7 separate regions of the Homo sapiens genome follow, and regions 2, 3, 4, 5, 6 and 7 are each linked to region 1. The links are contacts of gene promoters, found by promoter capture Hi-C in blood cells and fetal thymus (Javierre and others, 2016). All regions are on one chromosome and are shown on one strand. The core of a region is centred on a gene start or on the middle of the fragment in contact, and the rest is flanking DNA. Distances in the headings are between cores, read along the strand shown.

The links. Contacts are between HindIII fragments. The CHiCAGO score rates a contact against its expected background, and 5 or more counts as called.
Region 2: a contact is called between a fragment that was not itself captured here and the fragment with the promoter of PROK2 in region 1, in 1 of 17 cell types (naive B cells). The highest score is 5.7, in naive B cells.
Region 3: a fragment that was not itself captured here is called in contact with the fragment with the promoter of PROK2 in region 1 in 1 of 17 cell types (naive B cells); the score reaches 5.7 in naive B cells.
Region 4: a fragment that was not itself captured here is called in contact with the fragment with the promoter of PROK2 in region 1 in 3 of 17 cell types (erythroblasts, naive B cells and neutrophils); the score reaches 6.5 in erythroblasts.
Region 5: a contact is called between a fragment that was not itself captured here and the fragment with the promoter of PROK2 in region 1, in 7 of 17 cell types (naive B cells, total B cells, erythroblasts and 4 more). The highest score is 11.8, in naive B cells.
Region 6: a contact is called between a fragment that was not itself captured here and the fragment with the promoter of PROK2 in region 1, in 1 of 17 cell types (total B cells). The highest score is 5.1, in total B cells.
Region 7: a fragment that was not itself captured here is called in contact with the fragment with the promoter of PROK2 in region 1 in 2 of 17 cell types (total B cells and naive B cells); the score reaches 8.2 in total B cells.

What each region holds. Positions count from the first base shown.
Region 1 is chr3:71,783,380-71,786,946 of GRCh38, reverse strand. PROK2 (prokineticin 2) reads left to right here and starts at 1,799. Exons shown (of 4, transcript NM_001126128.2): 1 at 1,799-1,990. The coding sequence starts at 1,895. It overlaps LOC105377156 (a long non-coding RNA gene), which reads right to left and starts at 1,557. Exons shown (of 4, transcript NR_199161.1): 1 at 1,424-1,557; 2 at 1,200-1,311; 3 at 914-1,010; 4 at 520-730. The HindIII fragment of the contact is 4,477 bases long and covers 1-3,458 here.
Region 2 is chr3:72,893,790-72,897,356 of GRCh38, reverse strand. The region is part of intron 1 of GXYLT2 (glucoside xylosyltransferase 2); the gene reads right to left. Among named protein-coding and RNA genes, the nearest start is that of GXYLT2, 7.5 kb to the right of the region's middle. The HindIII fragment of the contact is 817 bases long and covers 1,438-2,254 here.
Region 3 is chr3:72,876,001-72,879,567 of GRCh38, reverse strand. It overlaps the pseudogene PSMD12P1. Among named protein-coding and RNA genes, the nearest start is that of GXYLT2, 10 kb to the left of the region's middle. The HindIII fragment of the contact is 1,092 bases long and covers 1,296-2,387 here.
Region 4 is chr3:72,844,551-72,848,117 of GRCh38, reverse strand. All of the region lies in intron 1 of SHQ1 (SHQ1, H/ACA ribonucleoprotein assembly factor), which reads left to right. Among named protein-coding and RNA genes, the nearest start is that of SHQ1, 2.1 kb to the left of the region's middle. The HindIII fragment of the contact is 587 bases long and covers 1,706-2,292 here.
Region 5 is chr3:72,824,533-72,828,099 of GRCh38, reverse strand. It overlaps SHQ1 (SHQ1, H/ACA ribonucleoprotein assembly factor), which reads left to right. Exons shown (of 11, transcript NM_018130.3): 6 at 3,549-3,567. Among named protein-coding and RNA genes, the nearest start is that of SHQ1, 22 kb to the left of the region's middle. The HindIII fragment of the contact is 971 bases long and covers 1,202-2,172 here.
Region 6 is chr3:72,806,040-72,809,606 of GRCh38, reverse strand. The region is part of intron 9 of SHQ1 (SHQ1, H/ACA ribonucleoprotein assembly factor); the gene reads left to right. Among named protein-coding and RNA genes, the nearest start is that of SHQ1, 41 kb to the left of the region's middle. The HindIII fragment of the contact is 9,648 bases long and covers 1-3,567 here.
Region 7 is chr3:72,786,675-72,790,241 of GRCh38, reverse strand. All of the region lies in intron 10 of SHQ1 (SHQ1, H/ACA ribonucleoprotein assembly factor), which reads left to right. Among named protein-coding and RNA genes, the nearest start is that of SHQ1, 60 kb to the left of the region's middle. The HindIII fragment of the contact is 3,053 bases long and covers 159-3,211 here.

The DNA of each region.
Region 1 (3,567 bases), core at 550-3,049:
AGCCAGCCACTTTTGAAATCTGATTTTTCCTGTGTAGACATATCATATTTTCTATGCTTGAAGAAGCAGGGAATACCCAAGCTGGCATTCAATAGTAGCGAATATGAAATAGACCATTAAAAGAAAGTCATAGGAATGTTAAAATCCATGTTGACTGGTTTTTACATTTACCCGGCAGCATTCCCGAGCTAGCGTTGGCATGGAGACTGGAAAAGGAAACTTTCCACAAGTCTGTCACTTGCTACTGTTTCTACTTACTCCACTGTGAGTCCAATTTTAACATTTTTTTAAGTTGAAAAAAGGGTTTGACTCCTTTTGTGTTTTCTGTTCAAGGCGTTTTTTAAACATGAGAACACGTGTGAAAAAGGTTTTTAAAAATCAGCCAAAGATTGGGGTTTCCAAATATTCAGCTGTTTAACATTCAGATAATTGCCTGCCTTCCCCCCGCTATCCCCCACATTTCGTCTGAATGCTTTGGCACGGGGGAGCCCCACAGTCTGAAAGTAACTCTGTCCCAACTCTCCTTACTGCATTTATTAAAGAGGCTGAAAGACGCATCTGCTTTTCAATAGTTTGCGGTTCTTAAGAGACCAGGAAAGCCAGAGGTTCTGACTATTCAGGAAGAAAGTTGGGTTTCCCAAAACGGGCAAGCAAGTTCGGTGTGGTCACATCTAGGTATTCTTGACGTCATTTTTGTTGAGGGAAACAGGCTGCAGTTTTTGGAGCCAGGCTAGGATGAGAGATGGAGGGCAAATCTGTCACTTATTCTTTCCTGGTGTGCCTGGAACCCACTAGACACTCAATTCATGTTTACGTGAATGAAGGAATCACAATAACGCCCTATCGCATCTGTAAAACCGAAGGGTGATTTTCCTGGGCTGGAAAGTTTAAGAAAGAAGAGAGAGCTGCGTACCTAGGGCTTAAGGGGCCTCAGGCTGGCACTCGAAACCAGGCGTTCTCATTTCCCTTTGGCATCACCCTGAACGGCTGTGCCTGGAGCTGGCGCGGGGCTGAAGAGGGGAGGAAATACATGTGAGGAAAATCAGAGGAGAGGGTCGGGAACAGATGTGGGCATAAAGGGAAGGCCTCTGACTTGAAATAAACAAATAGGAGTCCCGCAGCTGGAAGGACAAATCCTTTCACGTCGCGGGTGATGTGGGATTGGGGCGATTTTGCTCTCCCTTTGTTCTTTCCCCTGCCTTCCACGTTTCCAGGGTATTTGATTGATGTCTGTCTTCTCTGTTAAGTTATTCCACCGTGAGGAGAGAGCCGGTGGCAGTACCTGGCACGCAGCGGGCGCCCAGTATAGACCTGCTGAACAAACGAATGGATTCAGGGGCTGCTGTGTCCCCCTCACCCACCCCCCGCCCCCTATGTGTCCACAGCGCCCCGCACGTAGTAGGCGACCCCTAAACATCTGTACAGCAAATGATTTGCAAGTTTTCGGCGCTGAGCACGTGGAGCTTTGGAAACCAGGACAGCAAATGAGTGTCTCGGAGACCACAAAAGCGGTTCCGGCGCGTGCGAAAGGCGGTGGCTGGGCGACGGCGGAGGGAACGGCGCAGAGCGGGGCGCCCCGCCGGGAGCGCTGCCTGCGTGGCGCCCGAGGCGGGGGCGCGGGGGGCCGCGCATAGCACGTGCTCGTCTGGGAGCCGGCCGGGCCGAGGCGGGCGCGCGTGTGCGCGTGGGGCGTGGGGTGTGTGCCCGCGCCGTGCCCCCCGCGTGTGCTGCCGGGCGGGCGCCGGCGTGAGTCACGGCGGGGCTAGCCTTTATAACGGCCCGGAGGCTCGCGGGAGCCGCCGCGCCCGTCCGCCCGCCGCTCCGCGCTCCACCCAGCGCACCCGGGCCCCGCGCCCCCAACTGCCTCCGGCGGCCGCCCAGTCCCGAGGGCGCCATGAGGAGCCTGTGCTGCGCCCCACTCCTGCTCCTCTTGCTGCTGCCGCCGCTGCTGCTCACGCCCCGCGCTGGGGACGCCGCCGTGATCACCGGGGTAAGCGGCCCGGGCGCACCTGTCTGCCCCTGATGCGCGCCTGGGATGTGCCCAGGGGGCTTGGGACGGGGACCCTGAAGGGCAGGCTAGAGGCAAAGGGAGGGTCGCCCTGGGCGGGGACACCTGCCCCTGTCGCCCCTTGGTGCACTTGGGAAAATACCCAGATCCAAAAGCAGCAGACGGCTGGGGACACTGGGCGCGTCCTGGAAGAAACAGTGACAAGGATGTCGCCCACCACCTTTATTACCACCTTCTCCCGCTTACTTCTCCCTCATCACCCACGGCCTCACTCCTCGCATTTTTCTTCTGTTAGGCTGAAAGAAGTTTCTCTCTGAGTCTTCTCAAGTACTTTTGGAGGCTCTCCAACCTCGAACCTTAAAATTTGACGGCCCCTTCCTGAAATGCAAAGGACCAAGACGAATTCCCCAAGTGCCCAGAGTCTTAATCCTACAGTCAAAGAGTTTGCTCCCCGATGCGTCCTCCGCAGAAACCCTTTGAAATCGCTTGGTCCAGGGCCATGTGAGCGCTTTGAAAAGCAATTGTGGGAGCTTCCTTCTGGGTTCCGGGGCTTTCCCCCGCGCTCAGGGTCTTGAGGTATCCCCATAAAAGTTTTAAATTTCTAATTCCTGGCAAAGCACCTCCAGTGCTCCAGCATAATGATGGAGTAGGTTGCTGTGTAGATGTTTAAACTTAGAGACGATGTTTTCATCTTTTCTGTAAGTAGGAACTAGTTCAGTTCTCTCCCACTCTCAACAATTTTGTGTGGATCTGAAAAAATTGGGTTTGCAGTACAATACTAAATAGTCTAGTTTACATTAACAAGGCAAAACTGCTATCATTTCCTGGTTGTTCAACTTCTTTACTGTTTTTTAAGTGAGGAATTATTTCACACCTTCATTAAATTACTTCAAATATTTAAGTGCACATAATGGGATTTAAATAAAACGTCTATGTTTGAAATGTTGATACATAGATAATATCATTTGACTTTAAAGGAAGTATCTTTGTCTTGAAAAAATCAAGCTCTATTTTCTCTATATTAGTTATTAGGTTTATAGAATTTTGAAAGTCCTTTTGCTATGACAGCATTTGTATATATCCAACAGATATTTAACTGTAAGCTCTGTGATATTTATTAGAAAAGAGATTTTTTCAAAAAATTACTTGCATAGCTTTGCCAGTCCATGTGGTTGAGAAAAACTTTTTGCAGGTCTTTCTAATACATGAGAATTGAAACATGATTGGATTTTTTTCTCCCTCTTCTCCTGCTGGCTCATTTAAAGTTTCTCCTAATCCTCTGAGCCCAAGATCCCTTTGCAATATAAGTATCTTTTTGTTCCATTCACAGGACAACACTATCTGAATAGATTTGCAATGGGTTAAGGATGAAGGGCATTAGGAAACAGCTGTCTAATTAAAAATATATAAACCTATGCAACTCTTTGTAAATTTTCCAAGAACTGAAGCTTTTGTTACAAAATAAAATTTTATCACATTGGCTGTCTATCTGTTAGAGAGGCTTAGACTGGGCTTATTATATAGTTATGTGTGCTGTTTTTGTTGTTGTTATTTTAACT
Region 2 (3,567 bases), core at 597-3,096, 1.1 Mb before region 1:
GAGAAAATTTACCTGAGAGTGTCACCCACACAGAAGGAAGCAGAGCTAAAAGGAGGCAAGATTGTTAGAAATCCTGGCTTCACTTGCGACTGAAGCTTTATCTCTTTGCACTTTCCAGTTTTATGAGCCAGTTAAAACCCCTTTTATGACTAAGTGATACAAACAGATGAGCTGGTATTCTATCACGTGCAACTGAAAGAGTTCTGCCCTATCCAATATGAGTTCCTACCTCCTAGGTTATTATGAAGATTAAGTGAAATAATGCAGTGAAGTGCTTAATAAGGTACGTGGCATATTTTAAGTCATCATTCAATATTAGTTATCATCATCATTATTACTATTAACATGACATTCATCAAAAGCCTTCATTTTTCTCTAAATATGTTATATCCATGCCAAAACCAGGCTAGGCAGGGCAGCAAAAAGCATGTTATTTTATGTGTCAACATTCTACCTTACTACAAAACGGATTTGAACTGCTAGTAAACATTTTTTTTTTTTTAATGTGAGACAAGGTCTCACTCTGTCACTCAGGCTGGAGTGCAGTGGCGCTATCTCGGCTCACTGCAACCTCTGCCTCCCGGGTTCAAGCAATATCTCTTGCCTCAGCCTCCAGAGTAGCTGGGATTACAGGCACCTGCCACCATGCCCGGCTAATTTTTGTATTTTTGGTAGAGACCAGGTTTCACCATATTGGCCAGGATGGTCTCGAACTCCTGATCTCAAGCGATCTGCCCGCCTCAGCCTCCCAAAGTGCTGGGATTACAGTCTTAAGCCACCGCGCCTGGCCACACTCCTTCAGCTTTTAATGAGTACCAGGAGACTGAGATTGGTGTATCCTTTATTATATATAGAAGCTGAGTCTCAGTTTCCTCAAGTCATACCTACCCCCACAAGAAAAGGCTGCTTGAATCTGCATCTTTTTTAAAAGATATAAAACTGAAATAGAGATGGGTGTCTCACTATATTGCCTAGGGTGGTCTCTAACTCCTGGGCTCAACCAATCCTCCTGCCTCAGCCTCCCAAAGTGCTGGGATTACAGGCATGAGCCACCAGGCCCAGCCTTGAATCTGTAGCTTAGCCCTTGCTAACACTTGCTGGGAGTTTCTGGTGTGGCATGTTCGGTGTCAGCACTTTACCTGCATTGTCTCATTTTGTCACTGAGCTTATTTCTGAGAAAGCCACAATTTGCTGAGGACCGACTTGTTCAAAGTCACGCGGGTACTTAGCTGGGTCTAGTTATGGCTCAATTCCTAATGCAATGATGGATAATAATAGTACCCAGAACAGCAAATCATTTGGTGACTCCTATGAGCTAATCTACTGTGCTAGGTGCTTTATGTACATTATTATTTCACCTCTCGGATCTCAGTTTTCTGACTCATAAAAGAGAGCCATATTTTGGATTATGTATTCTCTATTGTCTTATGTAAAGCTTGGATTATAAATTGTACCATATGAGATTACAGTCTCTCATGTTGCTAAAAGAGATGGGGGATCATCTAAAAGTCACTTGAAATATATCAAGGTTACTCTTTTCTGGCACAAAATCAGCAACTCCCAATGAAGGTATCATGTCAAAAAACTTCTTTTTCCAAGAGGAGTTTTCGGAACTTCATAATTTGAAATAAATGCTGGGGAATATTTAAGGGAAACATAAAATGAATAAATGAATTCTATCTTCAACAGAAGTCTCTTTTCTTTTTATTATTTGTAAAATTGTGCTAAAATACATACAACATAAAATTTTGTCTTTTTTTTCTTTACAGTGAATTATAAATGAAGTATTCCTAAGGAAAACAAATCTGTTCTCAAATTCTCTTCCAAAGACTCTCACCTGTGAGTTTTAAAAGGAACCGTGTCAATATGGCCAATATTTACTGAATTTAGTAAAGGTGTTAAAAGCAGGTGCTACATATTCAAATTAGTCAGGACTCTCTGGTAGCAAGTAACAAATGCAAGTCAAACTAGATTAAGAAAAAAAGGGGAACTCATTACATCACAGAATCTAGAAAAGGTTGAGACAGCACAGCCAGTGAAAGGCAAGAAGCTGGCCTTGGGAACAGTGTTGGGAGCTGCCCCCCAACCCCGCCACCAGCCCACCTGACCCCACTCCGCCCTACCCCATCTGGGTTGCTCTGCGTCACTTCTCATCTCTCCATATCATCTTGGTTTTCATGAGCTCCTATTGCAGAACAGCCTTCTCCACTGGCAGAAATACAGTTGCAATCCCTGAGTTGCATAATGTAAAGCTTCAGCCACTAGAAACAGTTTGCCCTTACGCTGTTCCCTTAGCCCTCTGTTGTGCCAAACCCCTATTAACCTCAATGGGGAAAGCACCAGGTTCAAGAGGCTGAAGAAAAGACCCAGAGCCAGCAAACGAGACCTGGCGTTTTACTGGGGGCTTCCATACAGGGGAGAGAGTCCAGTGGCAATGGGCTGGGCAGGAGGACCGCCTTACATACAGTCCAGTGGCAGTGGGTTGGACAAGATGACTGCACAGCCCAGTGGGGAAGGGCTGGGCAGAAGAACCACAATTGTTTGCAAAAGGTGTGCAGTTTACATATTATAGCGTTTTCACTTGCCATCCTCCCCTCAACAACCTCCACCTGGCAATCTTCATGCAACCCAAAACTCAAGGCCTTAATCCCCTGTATAGCCCGTGTTCCACGGGGCAGGACGAGGGCTCAGATGTTCCTCACTGAATGTAAGACTGACTCTCTGGGTTGGCCACTCCAGGATTCCCTAGGTTGGAACACACATTCAGGTGCGGCTGGCATGCAGGGTCATTCTAAGGGTATGCTCAAGCTATTGCTATCAGGTACATTTACCATATAGTCTCTGATCCCAATTTTTAAAAATCCTTAAGAAAAGTCTGATTTTGCTCAGGAACCTACCTCTGGTAAGTCACCCGCAGGTTTTGATAAAGTCAAGTGCACATAACGGCTGCTCTAGGGTGTGGTGGATGCTCACTTCCTGGGTGCCCCCACCCAACTATTCCCCTTTCTCTCCATCAATAGTCCCAAGATTTTGATTTAAAAGAACCATCTAGTTCAGCTAAGATGATTTTGGATGCAGTAACAGAACCCTCAACTCCAACACAGGGCCCAAGAAACGTTAGACCTCAGGATGCCTTGATTCTGGGACTCAGCAGTGTCCTCAAGGACCTGTATTTTCTTTTTCTACTGCCCAAACAGATGGCTTCATCCTAAAGGCGATTCCCTTATGAATATGGTGGCAGCTGGGGCTATTTATTTCCTTGGTTGTATCTAGAAGATGGAGTCTTTTGTTTAATAATGTAAAATAAGTTCTTTCCTTCTGGCTGATTGGGCCAGTTTGGGTCATATGACATACCTGTGGACCAATAGCTGTTGGCAGAGAAATGAATGTATTGACAGGCTTAGTACTGGATACAAGAAGCTCACACTATGAAAGGCATGGATCATGATGGTGGGCTTAGACACTCCCTTGGGGTGACACAGTGAGACACTATCTCAAAAAAAAAAACCCAAATAATAAAAGTAATAAAAAATAAAACCTATTTAAAAGGAAAAACATTCCTCTCTT
Region 3 (3,567 bases), core at 592-3,091, 1.1 Mb before region 1:
TCTTAGTTTATTTTGTGTTGATATAACAGACTGGATAATTTATTTTAAAAAGAGATTTACTTAGCTCAATTTTTTTTTTTTTTGAGACAGAATCTCACATTGTTGCCCAGGCTGGAGTGCAGGCACGATCTTGGCTCACTGCAACCTCTACCTGCTCGGTTAAAGTGATTCTTGTGCCTCAGTCTCCTGAGGAGCATACTTCCACGCCTGGCTAATTTTTGTATTTTTAATAGAGACTGGGTTTCACCATCTTGCCCAGGCTGGACTCGAACTCTGACTTTAAGTGAGCCATCCGCCTCAGCCTCCCAAAGTGCTGGGATTACAGGCGTGAGCCACTGTGCTCAGCCTACTTAGCTTAATGTTCTGTAAGCTAGGAAGTTAAGGGTGTGTGGCTTCTGGCAAAGGCTTTTGCACTGTGTCATAACATGGCGGAGAAAGTAAAAGGGGAAGTAGACACATCCAGAGAGAAAACCCAAGGGGCATTCTGGCTTTATAATAACCCACTTTTGAGGGAACAAATCCATTTTCTCAAAAATGAATTTAGTCTCGCCAGAGTGAGCACTCACTTACACCCACAAGAACAGCACCAAGCAATTCATGAGGGATCTGCCACCTTGACCCAAACACCTCCCAGGAGGTCCCATCTCCCCACACCACCACATTGAAGATTAAATTTCAACACGAGTTTTGGCAGGGACAAACAAACCATATTCAAACCATAGCAGACCCTAAGCCACAGATCCAAGAAGCTCAGAAAACTAAGCAATGTAAGTGTGAAAGAGAAAAAGAAAGAAAGAGACTATACCTAGGCATATCATATTTAAACTGCATAAAATCAAAGGTAAAGAAAAAAACTTGAAAGAAGTCAGAAAATAAAATCTTAACTGTAAAGGAGTAAAGATGAGAATTACATCTGACTTCTCCTCAGAAATCATGCAAGCGAGAACAGAGTAAGGAAATACATGAAGTGTTGAAGAAAAAAAAAACACGAGTCTAGAACTCTGTATCCTGATAAATTATCCTTCAAAAGTGAAGGAGAAATAAAGAATTTCTTAGACAAACAAAAATTGAGGGAATTTGTTGCCAGTATAATTGCTTTGCAGGAATCGTGAAAAGAAATTCTTCAGAGAGAAGGAAAATGATGTAGGTCCAAACCTCGGATCTACATAAAGAAAGGAAGAGCTTAAGAGAATGAATAAGTGAAGATAAAATACAACACATATTTTTAAAAATTCTTAATTGATATAACAAAAGGTTTGTTCAAAATAATAACAATGTATTTGATGATTAAAGCTTATGTATAAGTGGAAGGAATGACAGTAATAACACAAGGGATGGGAGGGAAGTATTAGGAATATTTTGTTATTATAAGACATTTGCGGAGCAGGTGCGCGGGCAGCTTCCGGTGTGGGTGATGAGTGGTGGCCAAAGCAGGGGGACAGCAAGGGACACTCAGGCAGAGACCATGGCAGACGGCCACTTGCAGCAGGCTGACGGGCGCATATTCAAAATGGAAGTGGACTACAACGCCACGGTAGATCAGTGCCTACCCGAGTGTGAGAAGCTGGCCAAGGAAGGAAGACTTCAAGAAGTCATGGAAACCCTTCTCTCTTTGGAAAAACAGACTCGTACTGCTTCTGATATGGGGTCAACATCCCAAATCTTAGTTGCAGTAGTGAAGATGTGCTATGAGGCTAAAGAATGGGATTTACTTAATGAAAATATTACACTTTTGTCCAAAAGGCGGAGTCAGTTAATACAAGCTGTTGCCAAAATGGTTCAATAGTACTGTATTTATGTTGAGGAAATCACAGACCTTCCTATCAAACTTCAATTAACTGATACTCTATGAATGGTTACCGAAGGCAAGATTTATGTTGAAATTGAGTGTGCTCGACTGACTAAAACATTAGCAACTATAAAAGAACAAAATGGTGATGTGAAAGAGGCAGCCTCCGTTTATAGGAGCTACAGGTGGAAACCTATGGATCAATGTAAAAGAAAGAGCAAGTGGAATTTATTTTGGAGCAAATGAGGCTCTGCCTAGCTGTAAAGGATTACATTCGAACATAAATCATCAGTAAGAAAATTAATACCAAGTTTTTCCAGGAAGAAAATACAGCGAAATTAAAGTTGAAGTACGATAATTTAATGACTCAGCTGGATGAACATGAGGGATCCTATTTGTTTATTTGTAAGCACTACAGAGCAATATATAATACTCCCTGTATACAGGCAGAAAGTGAAAAATGGCAGCAGGCTATGAAGAGTGTTGTACCCTATGTTACCCTGGCTCCTTTTGACAATGAACAGTCAGATTTGGTTCACTGAATAAGTGGTGACAAGAAGTCAGAAGAAATTCCCAAATACAAGGATCTTCTAAAGCTTTTTACCACAATGGAGTTGATGCGTTGGTCCACACTTGTGGAGGACTATGGAATGGAATTAAGAAAAGGTTCCGTTGGCAGTCCTGCAACTGATGCTTTTGGTTCTACAGAGGAAGGCGAAAAAAGGTGGAAAGATTTGAATAACAGAGTTGTTGAACATAATATTAGAATAATGGCCAAGTATTATACTCGGATGACAATGAAAAGGATGGTACAGCTTCTGGATCTATCTGTTGATGAGTCCGAAGCCTTTCTCTCAAATCTAGTAGTTAACAAGACCATATTTGCTAAAGTAGACAGATTAGCAGGAATTAACAACTTCCAGAGACCCAAGGATCCAAATAATTTATGAAATGACTGGTCTCAGAAACTGAACTCATTAATGTCTCTAGTTAACAAAACTACACATCTCATAGCTAAAGAGGAGATGATACATAATCTACAATAAGGGTCTTAATGCTTTTAAAAAAGAGTTAAAATTTGAAGTCATTTTTTGTTTAAAAAAAACTGTTTAAAAAAAAGACATTTGCATTACCAGCGAAATGATACAGTGTTATTTGAAAATGGGCTGGATGTAGTGGCTCACATGTGTTAATTCCTGAACATTAGGAGGCTGAGGTGGGAGGATGTAATCCTAGCACTTTGGGAGGCTGAGACAGGAGGATCACTTGAGCCCAGGAGTTTGAGACCAGACTGAGCAACACAGGAAGGCTGTATCTCTAAAAAAATAAAAATAAATTAGCTGGATGTGGTGGCTTGTGCCTGTGGTCTCTCAGCTACTTGGGAGGCTCAGGTGAGAGGACTGCTTGAGTCCGGAAGGTCAAGGCTGCAGTGGACTATGATTGCACCACTTTACTCCAGCCAGGGCAACAGAGCAAGACCCTGTCTCTAAATGAATAAATGAATGAATGAATGAATAAATAAATAAATAAATAACTCAGTCTGTGGTATTCTGTTGTAGCAGCACAAAATGAACTAAACAGTGGAGAATATAGTATATGGAAAAATATATGTGCATGAGTGGGGGCAAAGACCATATGAAAACTCTCCTTTCTACTCAATTTTGATGTGAACCTGAAACTGCTCTATTAAAAACTCAATTTTTATTTTTGGTTTTTCACTCAGGTATTCTGGCTCCACTGTCTATGGTTTTGCTTTTTTTTTTTTATTTTTTTTTTAT
Region 4 (3,567 bases), core at 750-3,249, 1.1 Mb before region 1:
CAGTGCTCGATTGCGCGAATGCCTTTTCCCGACGTTTCCGCAGCTTCTCTTGGTGCCAGGGAACTGCCCTCTTCCAGGGGTGCGTTTTAGATGCTGCGGAAGCCCTTTTCCTTCTTGAGCTTTCTTAAATCCCATATCAAAGGATTGCGGAATCACTTGAAAAAGTGACGTTTGGACCGTGTCACTTTCCCGTTTCTGCCCTGTCGCCCTAGTTCTCGTCCCGTTCTGACTTGTTCTGTTCTTTCCTTTCACTCCGCGTTTGCTCTCCCAGTCTCTCCCTTCCTGGGAACGGCGCGCGCTGACATCTCCGTGACTTCCCAACCCGTCGGTCCTTTTAACTTTGCCCAGGCCGCCTTCTGTTGATCTATCTCTTGTCTGTCCGCTCCCTACTTACCGAAATTCTTACCTTTTTTGGACCTCTTGACACCAAATTAGCCTAGTTCTCCTGCTTCCCTGCTGTCTGCTGCTCTTCTGTTTGGTTTTGTCCCTGAAGTGTGGTTGTTTCCCCCAAGTCTCCGTGAGGGTCTGTCAGCACTTGATCTGTTTAAATTATTCTCCTTGCAGAATCGTAACCTTGGTAGCAGCTAACACTGATAACTCGTAGTGTGGTGGACAAGCAGTTCCGTTAAGTGCTTTATGATGGTGTATCTCATTTAACTTTGACGGTGATCCTTAGGGATAAGCACTGCTATTAACCCCATTCCACAGAACCCGCTGCTACATATTCATCCTAAAGTATTGCCAATCTCTTGTCCTTCTCTTTATCCATCCTCCTAATCTTTCTGAAGTGTAGCTGCATCCTACTTTTCCCACCCAAGTACTTTTGTGGTACAAACCTTCTCCACCAGTCAAGGTGGTTTTTTCACTGTTGCTGAACCAGTTTTGCTCAGATTTCCCTTAGACCATATAACGTCCGTATTTGAATTATTGCACTTTCCAGTTTTTTAATTCACTTATTTCTTTAATTTATTTATTGAGTTTCAGTGTTGGTATTATTGTGCTGAACAAGACAAAGTCCTGCCCTCATGTACTTTTCACTGGGGAGAGGAAAACAATAAACAGTGTACTTAATTGTGGTGAGTGCTATGAGGAGAAAGAAGTGCACTAATAGAGAATGAAAAAGGGCCCATGTTTTATAAAGTGGTCAGGAAAAGCCTTTCTGGGGAGGCGATATTTAAGCCAAGATGTGAAGAATAGGAAGAAGATTATGGTGGTAGCAAATATTTATTGAATTTTTACTCCAGGTTAGTGCTTTATACGGATTATCTCATTTGTTATTAGGACAGTGTTACAACGAGGCTTTATTATTTACCCGTTGCCGTGGATGGATTATTTGTGGGCACCCCCCCAACTCTTGTCCCCAAATTCATATGTTAAAGGTCTAATTCCTGTGTCACTTCTGCTTTATTGTATTCATCAAAACAGTCCCAGAGCCTGCTGAATTTTAAGGGGAGGGAACATAGACCTTCATGGTTGGGAAGAGTGCTGTGAGATGGGCATTCTTTGATAATACAGTTTGCCCCCAGATGTGGTGGCTCACTCCTGTAATCCCAGCACTTTGGGATGCCGAGGTGGGCAGATCACTTGAGGTCAGGAGTTTGAGACCGGCCTGACCAACATGGTTAAACCCCATCTGTACTAAAAATACAAAAAAATTATCTGGGCTTGATGGCACGCGCTTGTAGTCCTAGCTACTTGGGAAGCTTGAGGTGAGAGAATCGCTTGAACCTGGGGGGCGAAGGTTGCAGTGAGCCAAGATTGCGCTATCGCACTCCAGCCTGAGTAACAGAGCGAGACTGTCTAAAAAAAAAAAAAAAAAGAACATACAGTTTGCTATACCAAGGATGAATAAAACCTGGTCCCTCTCCTTGAAGAATGGAGACTGTAGCTGCGGAGGCCCCATGTAAGCAAATATAATTTTCTCTGCAGTAAGAATTTAACTCTAGGCTTATAGAGTTTAGGGGAAGGGAGCTGGTAATAATAGCTCACATTTTCTGAATGCTCACCTGTTGTGCCGGCCACTAAGCTCTTTGCATTATCATTTCATGCTCATAGTAACGCTTGGATAGTTACTGTTATTTCCCCCCTTTACAGAAGAGGGATTTATGATTCTTGAAGAATAATTAACTTGTACAAAGAAGGTTGTTACACATCTGGTAAATGGCAGATCTAGGAGTTAATTCAGATTCTGACACTAAAGTTAGCGTTTGTAACCATTATAACAAACTCATCCATAAACTGACCCCTTATTCTGGCTTAGAGGGATTTTCATTCTGAAAATGTATTGAAGCTTGAGGAAACCTTGGGATTAAAGGTCCTGGGCCTTTTGGGACTGTCAGCTGTTTTTGTTTTTAATCATATTTAGTAGGAAACAAGGGGGAGGGCCATGGGAAGAAAGGAAGCTCAAATTTCAAGTTTGGAATGATATGGAGTGGGCCTGATATGCCCTTCTGATAAGTTTAAATTATCTAGGCAACATGAGGCAGCCATAGACACTTTTTAAAATAGAAAAGTGACAATTAGATTCCTGTTTTAGAAAAATTATTTTGGAGCCTCAGTGGAAGACTGATTGAACTAGGGTAAAACTGGAAGCAGGGAAATCACTTCATTTCTTTTTTCTTTTTTTTTTTTTGGACACAGAATCTCACTCTGTTGCCCAGGCTGGAGTGCAGTGGCAAATGATCTCGGCTCACTGCAACCTCCCCTTCCTGGGTTCAAGTGATTCTTCTGCCTCAGCCTCCTGACTGGCTGGGGTTACAGGTGTGCACCACTATGCCTGGCTAATTTTGTATTTTTAGTAGATATAGGGTTTCTCCATTTTGGCCATGTTGGTCTTGAACTCCTGACCTAAGGTGATCGACCCACCTCGGCCTCCCAAAGTGCTAGGATTACAGGCGTAAGCCACCACGCCCAGCCAATCACTTCATTTCTTTTAGTACAAAAGAGGGGTAAATCCCTACATAATAATGATGAGATTTGACACTTTTGCTTTCTGCTTTTTTTTTAAAGTAGTAATTTGCCTGATAAAATCAATTGGTTTTGTGTTTCTTTATTGTTTCCCATTGAGTATCCCTTATCTGTACAGATTGAGTGTCCCTTATATGAAATTTCAGATTTTCTAGAGTTTTGGAATATTTTTGCATACATAATGAGATATCTTGAGGATGGAACTCAAGTTTAAACACAAAATTTATTTGTTTTATATACACCTTATACATATAGCCAGAAGATAGTTTTATGTAATTTTTTAATACTTTTGTGTATGCAGCCAAGTTTTGACTGCTTTTTGACTGTGACTCATCACATGAGGTCAAGTGTGGAGTTTTCCACTTTGTGGTGTCATGTTGGTGCTCAAAAAGTTTCAGATTTTGGAGCATTTCAGATTTTCAGATTAGGGATACTCAACTTGTGTTATAACAATAGTGATAACTACTATTTATTATGGCTTTTCTTTTTCAGTATCTATTTTGTTGGTGACTAGGGGTATTCAAATAGAAAGATGAGTCATCTCTAATTTCTACTTTCTTGGTTGGGGAAAGAATCTAACTTAGTTTATTAAAATGTGAA
Region 5 (3,567 bases), core at 438-2,937, 1.0 Mb before region 1:
TTCAGTGAATGCTTGTTCAATTAGTGACCTTGAAAGTCTTGAAAAAGGCGGGGCATGGTGGCTCACGCCTGTAATCCCAGCACTTTGGGAGGCTGAGGGGGTGGGTCATGAGGTCAGGAGATTGAGACCATCCTGGCTAACATGGTGAAACCCCATCTCTACTAAAAATACAAAAAAATTAGCTGGGCATGGTGGCGGGCGCCTGTAGTCCCCGCTACTTGGGAGGCTGAGGCAGGAGAATGGCGTGAACCCAGGAGGCGGAGCTTGCAGTGAGCCGAGATTGCGCCACTGCACTCCAGCCTGGGCAACAGAGTGAGACTCTGTCTCAAAAAAAAAAAAAAAAAAAGTCTTGAAAAAAAATTGAGATCTCAGATGAAAAAACAGACAAAACTTGAAAGTAATTTATTATGAAAAGTAAAACATTAGTCACCGTCAGCGCTTGTTCATGAAACTCTTAATTCATGGACAATTCAAGCATAGACCACAGTTCAGATTACTAGGACTGTATTAGTGAAATTTTACTCAAAATAATCAAACATTTTGGAGGTGTTTTTGGTGGGGAGGGGGATGGAGGTGGTAGAAATACCATGTTACCAAGCCAGTTTTCTTTTTCCCTTCATCATGGTCCCTTGGGGAGGAAAACAGCATCTTTTCAGTTAGGCTCCTTTACTCTTGCCTTTGGTGTCCTCTGCGCTGTGGTGTCCAAGGCCCTTTTCTCTCACTGTGCCAGTTCTTCCTGGGCAATTTTATCCTCTTCTTGGTTTAAATGCTTATGACTCTCATATCTCTGTCTTGAGCATCAGACTTGTATGTCCACCTACCTATTGGATGGGTCTGTTTGTAAATCCTAAAAAAAGGCATGTCATACTCAACCTATCCCAAGCAGGAGTCGTTATTTCTCACTCATGTCTGTTAGCTTCCCTGTCTCAACGAAGGACACTGTTGTCCACTGAGTTGTGGAGGCCAGAATTCTCAGTGTCATTTTTCACTCCTCGAGCTCTTCATTCCCTACAACCTGAGGGTTCTGTCATCTACGTATAGGTCAGATTCATCCACTTTTCTCCATGTCCACTGCCACTCTCTTATCCTAGGCCACCATTATGTCTGCTTCTCCAGGTTTCTCCCTTTAAATCATTTTCCAGGCTGCAATAAGAGTGATGTTTCTAAACCATGCTAATGTCATTCCCCTATGTAAAAAGCTTTTAAGTGTTTAGTTGGTAGGGATAATCTTTGAGATTTTTTAAACATGGCTTACAAGGTGGTTGCCACTATATTATGTTCAGCTTCTTTCAACTTTTTTTCCCTTAAATGTGCCTTCTTGTTTTCTAGCCTTCGCCAACCAGTTTTTCATTACAGAATACTCTGTCCCACCCCCTTCATCTGGTTAACTGTTCATTATCATTCAACCATTGGTTTAGGTATTATATCCTCCAGGGTCCTTGCCTGTCATTCTAATTTATTTTGCCCTAGAATCCTGTACTGCTGATATGTCATAGCATTTTGCTATATTGTAATTGCTTGACTCTCCCATGGGATTGTAAGTTGTGTGAGGGCCAGGACTGTCTGTGTCTTGTCATGAATGGAACTCCAGTGCCTAACATGGATCATGGAACATGGGACAATGTCAGTACTTTCTGTTGAATGAATGACTTATTTAGCATTTTAGCCATTTATTGTTATTGTTTATCCCTTTGAAATTCATATCCTAGAAAAAAGCTCACGTTCTGATTTGTGGATGAGTTTATAGTAGAACTTCAATTCAAAAGAGTTCCTTCACTTTAAGGAGAAAGAGATAGCTAATAAGAAAATAGGCTTAGCAGGATTAGTTTATGAAGCAGCTATTTTGTCCTTGTCTCATATGTCTGTGCACCTGTTGGAAATTGTTATTGAGAATTCCTATTTCAAGATATTAGCTGTTCAGTTTTGTCTAATATGTACTTTATTTCCTCATATATAAAAATGGAATATTTATGTTGGTTAAGAGCTTGGAGTCTGAAGTAAGAGTTCAGTATGTCTACATCCTAGCTATGGTTTTTACTTGTTCTCTGAACTTGGCCAAGATACAAAACTTTTCTGAGCCTCAGTTTCTACCTTTGTAAAATGAGGATATTGATAGTACCCCATGCCTATAGTGATGGTGTGAGGATTCAAGGAAATAATGGATGCAAAGCTTTTAGTGCGGTGCCTGGAACATACAAAGAACTCCGTAAGTTGTCTGTGATCTTTCTAATTTTTAAGTGATTTCAGTATCTCAGTTGAAAGGGAAGGCTGTGGAAAACTATCAGTTAGAAACTGATATAAGATTATAGTTTACAACTATAAGGTTGTAAAACTATCAGTTAGAAAATTCAGTGTATCAAAGCAACCAATTCCTTGAGTTTCTAGTTAACTAAAATATAAATAAAATTTTCACCATGAGTTATACCTTGTTAATGCTTTTCCCAAGAATACCAATTTCCAACTTTGAATGCAAGATAGAATCATTTCTGAATAAGTGTCCTCCAAGAGTGAGAGGTGTATTTTGAATGTGGCTGTTATTTTTCTAGTTAAAACAGGAATGTAGAGTGCAGGAAAATTAGCTTTCTGTTCTCTACAAATGTTGCTTTTATCTTCTTCAGTAGTTTAAGGAACTTTAAAATTAGTATCTTAATAAAATAGATTTTATCTTGGTAGAAAATATGAGTGCACATGCCAAAAATGGTGTGTGTGTGTGTGTGTGTGTGTGTGTGTGTGTGTGTAGCCCCTTTTAGCCTCTTTGTGGAGATGCAGTATCCTGAATTTCCTACTCATCTGCTTGTTTTTCTTTGCTGGTTGAGTTCAAAAATTTTTTCCTTTATTGAAATTTTACTAAAGTCTGTAGTACTTGCATACCTAGCACAAGTGCTAGATTTCAGTCCAATGTGTCTTCAGATTTGCTTCATTTCACATCATCGAATATGGGATGGGACTTCAGGGTAGGACCAGTCTTCTATGTACCTTCTATTTAAAGAGATCAGAGGTTGGACACAGTGGGTCAAGCCTGTAATCCCATCACACTTTGGGAGGCTGCGGTGGGAGGGTCACTTGAGGCCGAGAGTTTAAGACCTGTCTGGGCAAGGAAGCAAGACCCTGTTTCTATGAAAAAATAGAAATTAGCCAGGCACAGTAGCATGTGCCTATAGTCATAGCTACTTGAGAGGCTGAGACAGGAGGATTGCTTGACCCCAGGAGTTTGAGGCTGCAGTGAGCTGTGATTATGTTACTACTGTACTCTAGCCTGAATGACAGAGTGAGACCCATCTCTTTTAAAAAAAGTTAAAAAAAAAAAAAAAAGAGATCAGCAATGTTATATATCCCTTTAGGCAGATACTTACTTTTGTTTTATGGTAAATAACTTATGTTTGTGGTTAGTAACTACAAAGAAAGTAAATATAGTGTTCAGTCTTTCCTTGAAATGTACTTTGAATTAAAATCTGTATTTCTAGTACAAATATGAGTTAAGATAAAATGTTAAAAAGTAAAAGCCAGTGAAATCCTGTATAGTAAGTTCTTTCAATGTTTTTTCCTAGAGCTGACTTTTTTGAAGAT
Region 6 (3,567 bases), core at 313-2,812, 1.0 Mb before region 1:
AATTTAGTGAGTGTATTGTCTACATCTTATTAATGTATAGAAGGTATTCCTTACTTTACTTCCATTAGAAGGGTAGGATGGGATGGGATGGAAGAGAAACATCAACTTAATTTTTGCTTTCACTTCCGCCTTTGAGCTCATTCTGTGGGTTCTTTTTTTTTCCTTCTTCTTGGATGGAATATATATCCTATATATATCATATCATATATTTGTCTCCTATAATATATATCCTATAACTTTTTCTATCACTTTAGATTTTAAAAAAGTTCTTTTACCACTTCTAGTCACAAGAGGAGTCTAATTTCAGTGCTTAAAATGTCCACTTTGAACTTCATTACAAAAGAAATTCTTCCCTTCCCCAGCTGGGACCTGCCTGAGGGTGGGTGACCAGCGGCAGGGAGGAGGACCCCTTTCACTTTGGCAGGACATACCACTTACCTCCACTTGGCCACCCCATGTTGCTCTGTCCTGCTTCTTAATGGAAGCCAGACACCAATCTTTGTACTCTCCAGTTGGTATCTACGGTTAAAATTTCCAGGGTAAGCAGGTTGTACTCTCTTAGGGCCTCTTAAAACCCCCTTTCTCTTGGTTTAAGGTAACAGAAAAGCACCTCCTTCCTGCACCCACACCACCTTTATCCATGGACATTTTTTCTGGACCTCTTTACTCTTAAGCTCCTGAAGGTGAATATTCAGTGAATGAATTACAAATCATTTTTAGTTTCTCTCTCTACAAGTTCAGCATAGAGAGGTTAGCATCTCTTTAAAATAAAGGGATACTTGATACCAGTTATTTTCTTTGTGAGCCTCATTAGAAAAGAGTCAGAGTTCTGTCCTGATGTGTTAATAATACATACAGGTGGATGGCACAGGGATGCCATTATTGCCACTGAAGAGGCTCGTTTGTTCGGACACCCCATAATTTAAATAGAGGTAGCTCTGGTTTGGCTAGTTTGTTAATAATAACCACAGCTGCGTGTGTTAGCTACCTTCTGTGTGCCAGCGCTAGGTTCAGTTCTTTAGATACCATATCTCATTTTGCTCATATTGCAGTCCTGTGAAGCAGGCATTACTATCCCCATTTTGCAAATAGAAGACAGGCTCAAAGAAGTGAAGTCAGTGGCCCAGGGTCTTACAGCTAGTAGGTGGGAGAGCCTAGATTTGACTCCAGATCTGTGTAACTTAGAGTCTGTGCACTTACATATATTGAAATAGTTATAAATGAAATTATATGAAGCCTGGAATTTGCTTCAAAATAGTCCAGAGTGGGTTGTGGGAAAGTGGGTGGGGTGTAGCTGAAACAAGGTTGGCTACAAGTTGATTGCTGCCTGGGTGATGAGTATGTGGGATTCATGATACTGTCTTCCCTATTTTTGTACATGTTGTGATTTTCCTTTAGACAAAGTCTTTTTTTTTCCTTAAGTCTGGACTCTTAACCACCATACTACCAAGTTTCAAATTTGAATTTATCCACCATTTTGTGGAAAACATGATTTCTATTAATATTTGGACAGTTTTCTAAATTTTTTTGGCTAAGAAAAACGTATACAATTGTTCTTTCTATTTGCTGTTTTGTTTTTAAGGTTAATAGAAACCTACTTTCTAATAACATGTGAAGTCTGATGAATAGTAGCTACCTAGCAGGTAGTAACCCAAGAAACAGCCTTCAGGAGTTTAGTTGTTGTCCCCAATTAAAACCAGGTATTACTTCAGGTAATTAATAGCCCTTACTTATCAATTATTAATTGGGCTCAATAAACAAATTTTCAGAAATTACTGCTTTACTAACCTCTTCCATAGATAAAATAACACAATCAATGAGAAAGGAAAGAAGAGCTATGGTACCAAGCACAGGGCTTGTGACTGATCAATTTTTTAAAAGAATAATGGATGTTTAAAACATTGAGGTTTGGCAAGTGTATTGTATGAGCTCCAAGTTTGGAGGAGACTTTAAAGGTGAATTTCTTTTTAATATTTACATTTTATTTATTCCAGAGTCAGTTTAGCAAATGACTTTTAAAAAAATTGAATTGTAGAGGAGATATTGCAAACTCGAAAACTAAAAGATGAAATCACTGCCATTTTCCAGTGTTGACATTTATCTATATTTAACTTCTGTAAGTTCCCAGTTCTGGACATTTTAAAGAATTGTTAGGCCTTTTAATTTTTACTCTTTAAATACATTGTATGAAACTATTTTGAGATTTATTCAACAAGTATTTGTTGAGAACCTGCCATGTGAGGCTGCTGAGCTGGATCCTGAAGATATAATAGTTCTAATGGGGGCACAGGGCACAGAATTACACAACTACCAGGGTTTTTGAAAAATTGCATTTGTAATAAGTAGCTCAAAAGAGAAATATGGAGAGTGAAAATATAAGCCAGGGAAACTGACCTACATTTAAGTCACTGAAGACATGTAACTTCCTACTGTGGGAGCCTCTGCCTTATTTGACCTCTAATTCTCAGCTCCTACTAGTTTCCTAACACCCTCAAGTACTTGTTAATTGCTTGATGAGTTCATTTATTCATTGATTTGTTCAACACATATTTTGAATGTATGCCTACTCAGGAGCCAGTCCATACAAAGCACCCTGTAAATATAAAGAGCACTAGAAAAATAATTTAGATGTGTGGGCTGTATTTGGGGACGTGTTCACTAGCCGGGGAGCGTGTTCACTACCTAGGGAGCTAAGATGTCCATCAGTAACATAAAATATATAGTCAGCCGTGGTAAGTGCCTTACAAGAAATGTGGATTAAGTAGTTCAAAAAAGAGAGAGACGACACATTTCACTAGGGGTCAGGGAAATTTTCATAGAGGCTGTGAGATTTGAATTGGGACTTGAAGGATGGAGGGAATGTTGTAAACATTGTGAGTAAACCATGTGAGGAGGTTCATGGGATAGTGTAGTTTCTGCTATGAAAATGTGTTTGTTGGAATTAGATGATGGAAAATCGATATGCTATCTGATGCTGAGATTTGCTCTACAGCCTCTAAAACTAGTTGATAGTTTCTTTCCTATCTGAGTTAACTGGTCACTGGAATTTATGTCTCTACTTTTTAAATATTATTGCTTAATTCCCTGCTCCTCACCCGGGAGATTGTAATTCCTTGTGTTTTCTTCCTCCTATTCTAAATTGTTCTTGAACTTTTTTTTTCTGGCTTAATTCCCCATACCAGTTAATGTTTCTAAGAATAGAACAATCATAGTGCTCTCAGAAACTAGCATGGAATTAAAGTCAGATACTGAAGTAGCATTTGTACCTGTTTTTGCTGACCATTTTACATACCAACTTATCGAAGAAAGGAGAGAACTTCAGAGTACAGCAGGAGTTAACTCCTGGAAATCATGAACTGCTGCTGAATGTTTGAAAGGGAGAACTCCGGATTCTCCTTCCATGAGGCAAAGTGAATTCTTTTTACTCTTGTCTCTTCCTTGGAGTACAAGTCTATGTTCCCAGTCTCCTAAATTAGTACATTCTTCCCATTCATATGTATTATTTAACCTCAGAGCATTTGCGGGTTTATACTTATAACTCTGTATAGAAGGATATTATATATAAAC
Region 7 (3,567 bases), core at 436-2,935, 1.0 Mb before region 1:
TAGGTTTCCCTATGTTATTTTTCCCTATGATATCTGTGTCTTGTAATGCATATTTGCAAAGCTGAGAAACTGAAGCTCCTGGCCTCTCATTCTGAGTTACAGATTTTACCAATTGTTTTTCTGAAAAGAACGCTCCCTACCACCCTTCACTATAAGCTTCACTGGAAGTTTTGAGTGTGGTGCTCACTACAGCAAATGTTCTGTGGTTGGCAGCCTTAGAAAGTGATTTGTTTGAGGTTATATGTCTTATAAGAGATAGGTCAGGTCTTCTGGTTCCAGATTTCATATTTTTCAAGATATGCCACTTATGCAACCAGTTGTCTCCACCCATACCATGTGGAAGAAAAAAGATAAAAGCCCTTTCTTCAGAGAGATTTTCCTATAGGAAAAGGAATGAATGAAACATCTGTCTTTCTCATGGATGTTCCCATAGCACTTGGTTGAGAGATCATTGGGCACCTCTCATGCCTGCCTTATATTGTAGGAATCTAGATGTGTATCTCTTTCCCCTCTAAAATGCTAAGGTCTATGTGAATAAGCACCTGTCTGGACCCATCACAGTTTGTGAGCACAATCAGTTTTACTCAAATTGAATGATACCTATTAGACCGGATTAAAGGAACGTTTTTCATTTTTGTTTTAAATGTAGCACTTTAAAAATATAAATCAATTCTAACTTATTTTTATTGGTATTTCAGCTACATATACAAGTTGCCCCATTCTTTGCTGGTGGGCTGCCATCAGTAGCAGTGATAGTTCTGACCCTCTGAAATTTAACAGTTCCATGGTATCCAACCCTTTGGCTTCCATGGGCCATACTGGAAGAATTGTCTTGGGCCACGCATAAAATACACTAACACTAATGATAGCATGGACCAAAAAAAAGATCCATGCATAATTTTTATGATATCCATCACTACAGATAAGCAAAAAAGTCCTTGCATTCAAATAGTTGGCACCTTTTTATATAAGGTGGGATAGAAAATAATGAACTGTAATACATTCCAGCTCTACTTCTCATTGACCGTATGACCTTAGCAAGTCACTTTGTCACTTAATCTAATTCAACCAATATTAGTATTTTGATATTTCCTGTATTTGTTTCCCAATGCATTTTTTAAATATGTAACAAGTTTATTTTTCTTTTTTTTTTTTTTTTTAGTGTTTATTGATCATTCTTGAGTGTTTCTCGGAGAGGGGGATTTGGCAGGGTCATAGGACAATAGTGGAGGGAAGGTCAGCAGATAAACATGTGAACAAAGGTCTCTGGTTTTCCTAGGCAGAGGGCCCTGCCACCTTCTGCAGTGTTTGTGTCCCTGGGTACTTGAGATTAGGGAGTGGTGATGACTCTTAACGAGTATGCTGCCTTCAAGCATCTGTTTAACAAAGCACATCTTGCACCGCCCTTAATCCATTTAACCCTTAGTGGACACAGTACATGTTTCAGAGAGCACGGGGTTGGGGGTAAGGTTATAGATTAACAGCATCCCAAGGCAGAAGAATTTTTCTTAGTACAGAACAAAATGGAGTCTCCTATGTCTACTTCTTTCTACACAGACACAGTAACAATCTGATCTCTCTTTCTTTTCTCCACATTTCCCCCTTTTCTGTTCGACAAAACTGCCATCGTCATCATGGCCTGTTCTCAATGAGCTATTGGGTACACCTCCCAGACGGGGTGGCGGCTGGGCAGAGGAGGTCCTCACTTCCCCGACGGGGCGGCAGGGCAGAGGCGCCCCCCCTACCTCCCGGACGCGGCGGCTGCCGGGCGGAGACGCTCCTCACTTCCCTGACAGGGCGGCTGCCGGGCAGAGAGGCTCCTCACTTCTCAGACGGGGCGGCTGGTCAGAGATGCTCCTCACCTCCCAGATGGGGTGGCGGCGGGGCAGAGACACTCCTCAGTTCCCAGATGGGGTCGCAGCCGGGCAGAGGCGCTCCTCACTTCCCAGACTGGGCGGCTGGGCAGAGGGGCTCCTCACATCCCAGACGATGGGCGGCCAGACAGAGACACTCCTCACTTCCCAGACTGGGCGGCCGGGCAGAGGGGCTCCTCACATCCCAGACGATGGGCGGCCAGGCAGAGACGCTCCTCACTTACTAGACGGGGTGGCGGCCGGGCAGAGGCTGCAAACTTGGCACTTTGGGAGGCCAAGGCAGGCAGCTGGGAGGTTGAGGTTGTAGCGAGCCGAGATCACGCCACTGCACTCCAGCCTGGGCAACATTGAGCACTGAGTGAGCGAGACTCCGTCTGCAATCCCGGCACCTCGGGAGGCTGAGGCTGGCAGATCACTCGCGGTCAGGAGCTGGAGACCAGCCCGGCCAGCACGGCGAAACCCCGTCTGCACCAAAAAATATGAAAACCAGTCAGGCGTGGCGGCGCACGCCTGCAATCCCAGGCACTTGGCAGGCTGAGGCAGGAGAATCAGGCAGGGAGGTTGCAGTGAGTCGAGATGGCGGCAGTACAGTCCAGCCTCCGCTCGGCATCAGAGGGAGACCGTGCAAAGGGAGAGGGGAGAGGGAGGGGGAGGGGGAGAGGGAGAGCCCCAATGCATTTTTAAACCAGTGGAAGCAATACTGCACATACCATTCTGTAGCCTGTTTTATACTCATGATAATACCTTATAAACCATTTCCCTTTATAACATAATATCCATTACAGAGTTTTTTTTAAGTAACTAATTTATTCCTCATTATAAAAAGAGTACATATATGCTCACTGAGAAAATTTCACATTAAAACTGTATGGTTTTAATACATAGCACATTTTGAAATGACAAGGGATCAAGAACGGTGTTCTTTTGTTTTTGCTACATGGAAAAATTTTATTGTTTTTAAATGAAACTAAAATCTAAAATCCTGACTCTTATCAGTACAAATGTGAACCTGTAATTAAGATGTTAAATCACACTTTTCCTCTCTAGTATAGTTTTTTTAAGTAGGTAGTTCTGGGGAAAAAGAAAAAAAGTGTTTTTGAAATTCTAAACCCTCTTTGCATTAAACTGATTAATGGTTAATTAACTCTAATAGTGCAATTAACTTTTTTTGCTGAAATCTTCTGACCTTTTGGACACTAATGTGGGAAGTTTGTAGAGGGAAACAGCTATATCACAAGATAGTTATCTGTCATTTCATAAGTCATGAACCTTAATTTCCTCAGTTGTAAGTAAACCTAAGTCATTTCAGCACTGAAGTTCTAAAATTTTAGAAAGCTTAAGACCTTATGATTGCTTTAGATTCTTGAGTTGCTTTCTATGTGCATGTGCTTTTGAAGGGGATAGGATTATGCTAAGAACAGGGTAGATAACATACATCTCTTCCTTCTGGCTCTCTGTTGTTCCTGGTTCCTCTGCCAAAATGAGGTAGTGAGAGAGACTCATATGCAGAGGTGCAACATCAGAATTGCATGTAAAAGTGGAGTCATGTATTTTTTTTCAACCAGTAGTTATTGAGCTCTATTATGTGCCAGGTGGTGAGATAGGTGCTGGGAATACTGTGGTGAACAAGAGAGACACGTCGTTGTGAAGTTGGTCTTCTAGTGGGAAATGCAGATGTAATGTATTATACCCA